Regions from separate parts of the Homo sapiens genome. Here all the other regions are linked to region 3. The links are contacts of gene promoters, found by promoter capture Hi-C in blood cells and fetal thymus (Javierre and others, 2016). All regions are on one chromosome and are shown on one strand. The core of a region is centred on a gene start or on the middle of the fragment in contact, and the rest is flanking DNA. Distances in the headings are between cores, read along the strand shown. Region 1 has its middle 500 kb from the start of STEAP1. Region 2 has its middle 380 kb from the start of STEAP1. Region 3 holds the start of TEX47 (testis expressed 47).

Region 1 (3,354 bases), core at 783-3,282, 860 kb after region 3:
AGATATTCAAATGTAAAACGAATAAAGCAGTAGTAATTATCATATGGTATCGATTGTTAGGCACATGTCACTTTCAGCATTGTTAATACGTAAAAATATTGCTTCTGGAAATAAGTCAATTCTGGGTTTACATAAATCAATTTTATAGTCTTCTTTTATAATCCCAAACCCTTTATAATTCTAAATTCCATGAACATATTTCAAGGTCATCTTTTAAAATTTATTTTTAAATTGACAAATAAAAATCAAATATATTTAAAGTATACAACATCATGTCATGATATATGTATACACTGTGGAATGGCTAAATCAAGCTATTTAACATATTCATTAACTCACATATATATCATTTTTTTGGTCAGGGAAACCCTCTAAATCTATTCTCTTAGGAATTTTTAACTTATTGTCATTAACTATAGGCACTGTGAGGTACAATAGATCTCTTGATTTTATTCCTTCCATCTAACTGAAATTTTGTGTTCTTTGACTGACATCTCCCTGATCCTCCCATTCCCCAGCATCTGGTAACCACCATTTTGCTCTTTGTTTCTATTAATTAGATTGTTTTAGATTCCACACATAACTAAGACGAAGCTGTCTTTCTGTGTTGGGGTTATTTCACGTAATATAATGTTCTTCAGATTCATCAATGTTCTTGTAACTGGCAGGATTTCCTTTCCTGTTTTTAAAAGGCTGAATAGTATTCTGTTGTGGATATACATCACATTTCCTTTTTCCATTTGTCTGTCAATGGACACCCAGGTTAATTCCATAGCATGGCTATTGTGAAAAATGCTGCAACAAACAAGGGAGTGCAGTTACCTCTTTAACATACTCTTGTCATATCCTTTAGATATATACTCAGTAGTTGGATTACTGGACCATACAGTCCTTTATTTTTAATTTTTTGAGGAACCTCCAAATTGTTTTTCATAAGAGCTGTGCTGATTTACATTTCCACCAATAGTATAAGAGTTTCCTTTTCCTCATATCCTTTCCAACATTTACATTTTCTCTTTTTGGTAATAGCTATCCTGACTGGTATGAGGTAATATCTCATTGTGATTTTAATTTGCATTTCTCTGATGATTAATGATTATAAGCATTTTTTCATATACCTGTTGTCCATTTGTATATCTTCTTTAGAGAAATGTCCACTCAAGTCCTTTGCCCATTTTTAATTGAGTTGTTTTCTTACGATTGAGTTGTTTGAGTTCCTTGTATATTTTAGACTTAACCCATTATTAGATGTGTGGTTTGCAAATTTATTCTCCTGTACATAGATTGTCTCTTTATTCTGTTGTTTCCTTTGCTGTGCAGAAGCTTTTTATATTGATGTAATCCCATTTGTCTATCTTTGCTTTTGTTGCCTGTGCTTTTGGGTTTAAATCCAAAAAATTATTGCCCAAACCAATGTCATGGAGCTTTTCCTCTATGTTTTCTTACAGTAGTCTCACAGGTTCAGGTCTTAATATCTAAGCTTTACATTTTGAGTTTATTTTTGTATATAGTTATGAGATGGAAGTCTAATTTTATTCTTTTCACGTACAGTTTTCCCAGCACCATTTATTGAAGAGACTGTCCTTTCCCCATTGTGTGTTTGCAGCATCTTTGTCAGAAATCAACTGACTATGAATGAATGAATTACTTTTTGGGCCTTCTATTCTAGTCCATTGGCCTCTACTTCTGTTTTATGCCAACACCATGCTGTTTTGATTTCAAAGTTATCTTCTAAATAATCAAATTTAATACAATAGTTAATCTACTATCACTATAGACTAGATTTTATATGATATGTATTTTTAAATTTAGTAATCATTGTTTTCATTTCCCCAAAATCTGGTTTTCTTAGTATTTGGAACATTCTGATCTTATTTTACATTATTTAAATACTACTCTCATTATTTAATAGAATATTTGTAAGCCTTCTTGTTTAAAGTTATTTGATTTGAGTCCTCTAATGACCACACTATTGAGTTTCAGGGTAAATTCCTATCCATTGTAACTCATTTAATAGTGGTAATCTCTGGGTCTGTCAGTAGTTGTTTTCACATGTCAATTTTGTCAGTCTCAAAAAAATAGAGAATAAAATATGAAAGCAACACAAACAGTAAAAACAAAATATAAATATAAAAAGATTCAAACTTATTTTCTTTTGATGTTTTGAGATTTCAAGATCTAGTGTGAATGCCATAGTAGATAGATAGGGGTTTAGGCAAAGAAATACAGGTGCAATTTCAGAGAAATTTATTTTTGTGAGTCAAAAGCCAATGTTGCAATGTGTCTTAGTTATTTTCAGCAATTTTCACAGTCTCCTGGATACCTCTGTGCAAAGTCTATATGACCTCTATGGGATTCTTTACTTTGAAGGTTCTAGAACTTAGCTAAAACCCTGCCATTCATCTCCGCAAACCCCTGCCACTGCTCCAAAGTCCATCCTTTTATTCACAGTTCACTCTGAATTAGGAGATGTTATAGGGATTCTAGAGAAATTGAGATGGGAAAAATTGAGGAATTTGTTTACCCATTCTGCTGGGGCTCCCTTTCATAGTATGTATTCTCTCATCTGTAACATTTATTGACAATAAGCTTGGAAGTGTCATGTAAATGAATGGAATACCTCTCTATTTATTGGTGTTATAGAACGGCTTCACCCTTAGTAAATGCATTCATACTTTTAGTGGGAAATAAAGAGACTTTTAAAATATTTATGGTTTCAGGATATCATCTCATTCTGTGTATTCAAATTCCAGGCTATATTTTCTAAACTGAAAATGTACCATACAATTTTTGGTATAAAATTCTTCCATGCCACCCAACATAAAGAGAAAACTCCTTGATAACATGGTTTCTATCTTTTCAAAGTCATCTCTCAGAATACAACAAATGCTCACTAAACTCTATTTTTGTATTTTTTTATTTTTATTTTAATTTTATTTTATATTTTCGAGACCGAGTCTCACTCTGTCACCCAGGCTGGAGTGCAGTGGCACAATCTTGGCTCACTGCAACTTCCATCTCCTGGGCTCAAGCAATTCTCCTGCCTCAGCCTCCCAAGTAGCTGGGACTACAGTCGTGCACCACCACACCTGGCTAATTTTTGTATTTTTAGTAGAGAGGAGGTTTCACGATGTTGGCCAGGCTGGTCTCGAACTCCTGACCTCAAGTGATCCAGCTTCCTCGGCCTCCCAAAGTGCTGAGATTAAAGGCATGAGCCACTGCTCCAGGCTTAAACTCTACTTTTAACAGTTCATCATAGTTGAACCTACTGTGATGAACTAGATCTACTATGATCTTTCATACTCCTGTATTTGGCTTATTCAGCCTGAAATATATTTCTCCATTTTTTTTGCC
Region 2 (3,904 bases), core at 123-2,622, 980 kb after region 3:
AACTTTAGACTCTGATTCTATCACCATAACTAATCATACAAATTCTTCAGTATCCTCAGGTAACATTCAGAATGGAAGAAAAGTAGAGAATGACAAGCCATACTTTATTGATCTCATATCACTTTTCAGCCTTTAAATATTGCAATGAGAATCCATTTAACGACTTTCATCTGGAAATTACTTATCACCTTTCAAGGACATAATGTAAAATTCAGTAGAAGTCAATATTGTTAACAGGGCAAGAGTTTCATGAACATAAGTTTTTAAATGACCAAAGACAGGGTTATGATCTTGCTATAGAAACTTCGATAACACAGAAAAGAAGAATGTGGAAATTGATTAGGGAATTTTTGTTGTTGTTGTTTTACTTGCTGTTTTATTTTGAAAGATTTCAAACTCACAAGTTCAAAGAACAAAATAATGAACTCCTATATACTTTAGACCAGTTGTTAACATCACACCACACCCCCACATTCTATCTCTGTGTGTTTGTGTGTATACCCACACGTTTGTGTCGATAGGTATATATGTGTATACATGTATTACATATATATTTATATGTGTTTTATATATACACATATATAATACACATGAAGCATATTCATATGTGTGTATACTCACACAGAAAGAGAGAGAGAGAGAGAACATGAGAGAGAAAGAGAGAGTTCTTTTCATTTTTTCAAATCATCCTTAAGTGGACTATGGGCATCATGACTTTTTAAGCCCCAAATACTTAAGCATAAACTCTGAAAAGCAATGACATTTTCTATGTGACCAGAAAACCATTATCACACCTAAGAAAATCAACCTCAGTGCAATATAATCCAAGGAAAAAATCTATAATAAAATGCCTGTATTGTTTCAAAAATGTTCTTTATACTTTATTTTTTTCCATCTGAAATCCAATCAATATTACAAAATACTTTGGATTTAACTTTTATTTTTCATTTGTCTCCTTAAATTTAGAACAATTCTCTGTACTCCCTTTGTTCTTTATGCCACTGAATCCTTTCAAGAGTTCAGGTCAGTTGTCCTGCAGAAAGCTCACATTAGTGATTCATCTTGTGTTGAAATTCAGGTCAAAGTTTTCTAGCAAGAATGATATATTGGTGACATTGTGTATCATTGAATCACATCAGAACCCTCATTTCAAGCTATGTTCCTACTGGCAATAAAAAGCTTGATTACTTGTTTAAGGTTTCCATCATAAAGGAAAAATTACCCTTTGTAATCAAGGAGTATTTTGTGAGGTGAACAAATTGATTATCTATGTTTGAATCAAATTGGGAGTTACAAAATGGTGATTTTCTAATTGAATCATCTTTTCTATTTTAATCAGCTGGTATTCTTCTGTAAAGAAGAGTTTTTCACCTTTCTCTGTCTTCCTTTCTCTCTGTCTCTCCTGTTTTCATTTATTGTTTTTCTTTAATATCAATATGGAGTCATGTTTTTAAAACTTTATTCCATGTGTTATAATTCATTACCATCATAATTTTGCAAAATTTAGACTGCTTCAAGCTGGCTCCTGTATCCTTTTAGCCTTACCCCATCCTTGTGTATTTCTTCAAGCTTTCTGTTACAAGAAGATGTTTCAGGCTCAATTTGTACTTTCCTTTGTGCAGATGTGAAAACAGCTATTTTTCCAAGGAGTCAAAATTCCTTTTGGTAGGATATTATATTTAGAAATCTAGATGTATCACTATGTTATACTGCTAGCTGCTCATTGCCACTAGGGTGTCATTGCTTCTATACACTTTCAGGGACAGATCTAGGAAACCACAAATACATACCCACAAATACACAGTTGAACTATAGATGTATATTATGGATGTATTATTCAACACATAGGTGAATTTTTATATATATAGAAGTACTGCATTTTATTTATAATTGCTGCAATATATAGGAATATATATGAATATATATATTTTTTTCAATAACATAAAATTATTTTCACCTTTTACCACTCCATATTGGCATCTCCCTTTACCCATAGTAAAAGTTTAACAATATCTTTATTTTATACATTTGCTTTTTCCTAAAACACATAAATAATGCTTTTAGAAATACAACACCAATATCACTACTAACAGCAACCATACTAAGTAAAGTCTAATATTCTTTATAGTGATTGGGAAGTTTTGTGTGTCCCAGAATATATTCCATTAAAAGCATAGAGCAAGAATATTATATTCAATAGTTATTTGAATTAATTATTTACTCTGGTTTCATTGTCCCTTTGAAAATATTATTTTTGTGTATTTCTCATGTGTTTTTATTCTTTTTAATTTTTTAATTTATTTTTGTCTATGGCCAGATCACCCTGAATGTGCCTGATCTCATTTTTTTAATGTAAATCATTTTTTACATGATTCATAATGTAAAGCTATATACACAGGCATAGTCAGAGAACCCTCAATTCTCTCCCTACATCTTCTACATTCTGACATTCCTACGCATCACTTCCTGAGCTTCTTTATGCAAAAACAAGCAAACATGCATATATCAATTGTCCTGTTTAATTAAAAAAGGTAACATTTTATATATCATCTTGCATACCTTGCTGTTTTGACTTATCACTATATCCTGAAGTTTATGCCACATCGGCATATAAATGGCATCCTCATTTCTTGTTACTGCTGCCTCACTTTCAATTTTGAATGTAAATTCATAACAGATGTGTCTAAGTTGTCATCAATATTTTTCAATTGACAAAAAACATGGTATGTTTTTATTATGTGCAACATGATATTTTGAAGAGTATACACATTGTGGAATAGTTAAATCTAGCTAATTAATAACCCTTTGCATATATTGTTGCATATTTGTGCAGATGACCACCAGCATAAATAACTAGAGATAGATTTGCTTGTCAAAGGATGTGCATATGCAGATTTGTTAGATATTTGCAAATTTACTACCATAAATTTGTACTATTTTGCAGTACCATTTGCAATGAGTGAAAATTACATACTTTGTTAAGATTTCCTTAGTTTTAGTTTTTATTTAATGTACCTTTTTCTCCAAGGTCCCATCAAGATACATGTTTAACTGTCATGTCCTCTTAAGTTCCTATTGGCTGTTAGCAATTTGTTTCTTACTTTTCCTTGTTTCTGATGACATTGACAGTTTTGCAGAATACTAGCCATATTTTCCCTTGACTGAGATTCATCTGGTGTTTTTTTCATGGTTAGATTGAGATTATAGGTTTTTAGGAAAGAAGACCATAAAAGTATATATGCCAATTTCATAAAATATAACATCATTTAAAGGCAACATTATCAGTATGACTTATCATTGTTGATGTCAACCTTGTTCACTTGGCTAAAGTAATGTTTACCAGATTTTTCCACTATAAGTTTACCTTCCTGCTTCTTTATCATTCTTATTGGAAAGAAGTTGCTATGGAAAGCCCGCACTTAAGGAGTAGGGAGTTAATACTTCATCTCTTTGAGGGCAAAGTACATAAACATTATGTCTTTATCCTATACTTTGAATTATAATCCAATACCACTTCATATCTTGTTGCTCAAATTGTTCCACTTTTGGCCATTGGGAGCTCTTTCATTTGGTTCCTGTGTCCCTTCTAACACACCCCCATTATTGTGTTTTTTTGCATGCTTTCTTACTTTCTGGTTCCACAATATGCTCTAGACTCACCTTGTACATTCTTGGCTCCAGTCATTTTTCCAAGAAACCCAGGCTGTTATTTTTATGGAAAATCATATTAGAAACCAAGCTCTGGATGCTAGGCATGTTCACTGCTATGAGAGTATCACTTTTTCTAGGTCCTCTCAGATGAAAAAGTAAGGAAATATACATGTATACTACTCTGTTTACATTTACATATCTATAAATATTTTACAAGTATCTATCTGTATCTGTCTTAAGCTAAAGAGGAGTT
Region 3 (3,634 bases), core at 1,018-3,517:
CCACCTGATAATGTATTTTCATTTCATTCCGAATAGCTATTGTTTTCTGTAGCTTTATAATGGTCTCAATATTCTTGATTATATAGGCCAGAATATGTGGGCTTTGGAAATATTTTCAATAATTAGATTTTGTTTTCTGAATGCAGGAATTATACAGTGATTATTCCTTTACTTGTGCTCTCAAAGCCCTTCCTATATACTGCTACTATAATGATATATTATATTACATTATATGTCATATCGTAACTACTTCTACATGTACTTGCCTCTAACCTGAGGTTGCAAGCAACTCAAGGGTGGGATTTTTCTTCTCGATTTTGTACCCTCAGAACACTATACTTCTGCTATGTAGTAGTGACTGTTTATTAACTCTTGAGGGATTGGATGATAATCTGAATTCCGTTTGTCTTTTTTCAGCCATACTTTTTTTTGAAAAGTGTCAATTCATGAAAATGATGTTAATATTTGAGAGCTTATGATAAACTTATTAAACCCATCTACCTAGTAAAATAATGTATTGAACTTAATACCACAACAAATAGATACATTTTAAAGTTTAGCTCAACATACTCTATAAAGATTAATATATTACCTCTGTGTATATTGCAATGTTCTGTTTCTTTTAAAAGACACCAGTAACTTTAAAAATGTTTTTTTTATTTAAGTAGCACAAACTCCTTAAGAGACATGGGCACATTATCCCTCTCAATCCTAGAAACGTGAAGGAGCAGGCCATACCACCTCAGAATCCAGAGTGATGTGTATGGGTCTATTATACATGTTTATAAATGTTGCCGGGTCCATGAATTCTTCGGATTTGCACAAGTACTTTATGATTTGTTCTGGGAGGAGTAGGTCAGGTGCAACTTGGTGTAAGTTATCGCCTGGTCCTTTAGTGCCTACTTTCATAGTCTGGCAAAGGTAGAGTGACAGTTTATGAGTTTGTGTGAGAAAATCTGTGATGACCTCCTTTAGGGACTGTGACTGTGTCACATCGTCGAGATACATAACTGGAACTTTTATCACTGAAACATGCCATTGCATAAAAAGCCTCATTGGAATGTTATGAGAAATGACTATAATTTTCATTTGTTGAATAAAAAATACTGTTTCATCTTTGACATGGCCAATATAATCTAAAAGAACTTTGTAGAGAGTGTCGCTGGAGGACTCGAGGATATGCAGAATGGAAGTGGGATAGATGAGCAGCAATCCTGTCACTGCTTCTCCTAGGTGATGTTTCAAAACTGACTGAAACATTTGTTCATAGTAGTCAGCAACATCTTTTCTTTCTACATTTGCTTGTATCTTGGCCACTAGAAACATCCTATCAAGAAGGAATTTCTTTAGGTGTAGTCGTTGTTTCTCTTCTTGAAAGTGCAGGTAATTGCTACGTGGGACTTGGAGAAAAAGAAGAGGTTCCAGTGGCAAAGGCCTTTTGCTGCCCTTCTGGTTATGGACCGAAAAGGACATGAGGAGTCTTATTTATTTTTCCAGATGATTCCAGCTTTTAGCTTATCATAATATTTATGCTGCCAGGGTACCTCTTTACTGATGAACTCGTGTTTTTATTTCTTCTGACAAAAAAAAAAAGAGTAAATCACGGTTTGTCAAATGTTACTAAATAGTAAAATCCCAATCTTTTGCCAGTTTTATCAGGAAACAATGTATTTGAAATGAAAGACAATGTTAAAACAATACTCAAACTATAGACTTTTTTAAAAGTTTACAACGAAAGAGTTAAATAATATCCTAGGAAAAAACTTTGTAAATGTCATGTAATGGTGATTACAGATTGTCCTTTATAAGCCAAATTTTTTAAAAATGGTATTTTATGGTAATTCTTCCAGTTTCTTTTACAAATCTAACTGATCTATAACTTTTAAAAAAAAATCCAAGGCTTTTTAAGTCCTAATTAGCTTATGTAACCTTTAGTCATGTCACTAATAGTTAATAATGTTCCTTGAATAATAACAGTAAACATTTCAAGGGAAAAGTTTTGGTTCTTTGTTTTTTCTCCTATCGACGAATCTCAGAAATGATTCATTTCTCCCCCCTTTATTTGTTTTCTTGTTGTTTTTGTTGTTGTAAGGGCTACATGAAAGTATTCTGCTACTTTAACTTACTCTGCTTACAAATCTCCTCAATTTTTTTTTCCAGGTCAACTTACCATTTTTCTTTTTTTTCCTGTGCTTCTGTCACGCACCTGTCCTCGAGGCCCTACTTGTCCTCCATCAGGCTCCCAACTGCCAGTCCTCTGGTGTTCTCAGCTGTCCTGTGTTCTGCCTTCCCTCGGGCATACGTGAGTCAGAATGTCAGCACCATTAAAGGACCAGAGCGCCAAGTTTCTTAATACGGGTATCTCGACAAACACTTCAAAGTCACTGCAGAGGAAGTGTGAATGGCTTATTCCTGAATGGTTTATTTTTAGTCAGGTGCATTTGTAAGTCAGACAGATGGTGAGAATCTGGACATCTTTTTCCTTTCTTTTTTTCCGTTTGATAAATAAAAAGTATGGTTGTAGAACTCCTCTGTTCTACTTAGACACTAACTAAAGACTTCAGGAACACATATCTGAATCTATCTAATGGTGAATATATGATGAGAAAGTTCTATAGTAAGATTTGGCTTACTTAACTTAATGTGATTTTAAGAGATGCACCTCTTAAAATTGTGTCTTAAGAGATGCATCTCTTAAAATTGCATCCACATGAGTTCTAAACAGTAATTTTAAAACAAGTTTAAAAAACGTTTATTCAATTTTTAACAATGAAACCTAAGAATAATTTTTTCCCTGAGTTCTGTATTATCCAAACTAATGATCTAATTTTAATGATAATACAATGATAAATTATCCAAGTAAATGAAGGCAGAGAGGTGACTTAATAATTAATTAATTGTGTAATACATAAAAATGGACTATTCTTCCTCATTGTGATTCACTTTATCACTCCCTGAAGCAATACAATCTTTCCGAAGATGTAAACCATGGTGCCAAACCATGTCATTGCCCAGTCTAGTTATTATCTCACTCTCATTCTTCTTACAGCTTTGTTGGAAGAAAGTGTCCATGTTGACCAGAGCCTTCATTATGGCCTTCTCTCCTCTCCTGGTTTCTATGATACTGCACTTTCTTGGATTTCTTTCTAAATCTCTGTATGAGGCCTTGCCCGGCAATACCTTCTCACATCCAACTCTGGAAAATACTTAGGCTCTGCGCTCATGATGTGGTTGGATCTCTCGCTCTACTTCTTTGCCCAGTTAGCTCAGCACCATCTATATGTCTCTTTTGTGAGGGCAGGTAAGTGGTCCTTAAAGCCACTCTTGCCACTAGATTGCACGTTTGAAATTGGAAATTGATCATGGGGCTTTCCTTCTGAGCTTACCTGTGGACTAAAAATATTTTTCAATCTGAGTCTCAAGGTAGACACAACTAGTTAATTGGGGTTGAGAAAGAAGAAAAAACTGAGCTCCCATTCTAGATTATTTTTGCACAGAAAATTCTCAAATTATTATCTCCAGTCACTTATTCACAACTCTTCTCTCCTTGGATGTAACTCTGTCTTTTCAAATTTAAAATGAAAACATTTAAACAATTATTTTCCTTATTAAACATGTTTCCCTTTACAAATAC

The links. The method cuts DNA at HindIII sites, captures the fragments that hold promoters and counts their contacts. A CHiCAGO score of 5 or more calls a contact.
Region 1: a contact is called between a fragment that was not itself captured here and the fragment with the promoter of TEX47 in region 3, in 4 of 17 cell types (naive CD4 T cells, naive CD8 T cells, fetal thymus and 1 more). The highest score is 7.3, in naive CD4 T cells.
Region 2: a fragment that was not itself captured here is called in contact with the fragment with the promoter of TEX47 in region 3 in 2 of 17 cell types (naive CD4 T cells and megakaryocytes); the score reaches 10.5 in naive CD4 T cells.

What each region holds. Positions count from the first base shown.
Region 1 is chr7:89,648,764-89,652,117 of GRCh38, forward strand. No RefSeq gene overlaps it. Among named protein-coding and RNA genes, the nearest start is that of STEAP1, 500 kb to the right of the region's middle. The HindIII fragment of the contact is 1,109 bases long and covers 1,479-2,587 here.
Region 2 is chr7:89,774,581-89,778,484 of GRCh38, forward strand. No RefSeq gene overlaps it. Among named protein-coding and RNA genes, the nearest start is that of STEAP1, 380 kb to the right of the region's middle. The HindIII fragment of the contact is 390 bases long and covers 1,178-1,567 here.
Region 3 is chr7:88,793,470-88,797,103 of GRCh38, forward strand. TEX47 (testis expressed 47) reads right to left here and starts at 2,268. Exons shown (of 2, transcript NM_152706.4): 1 at 2,171-2,268; 2 at 637-1,577. The coding sequence starts at 1,473. The coding sequence ends at 712. All of the region lies in intron 1 of ZNF804B (zinc finger protein 804B), which reads left to right. The HindIII fragment of the contact is 9,842 bases long and covers 1-3,634 here.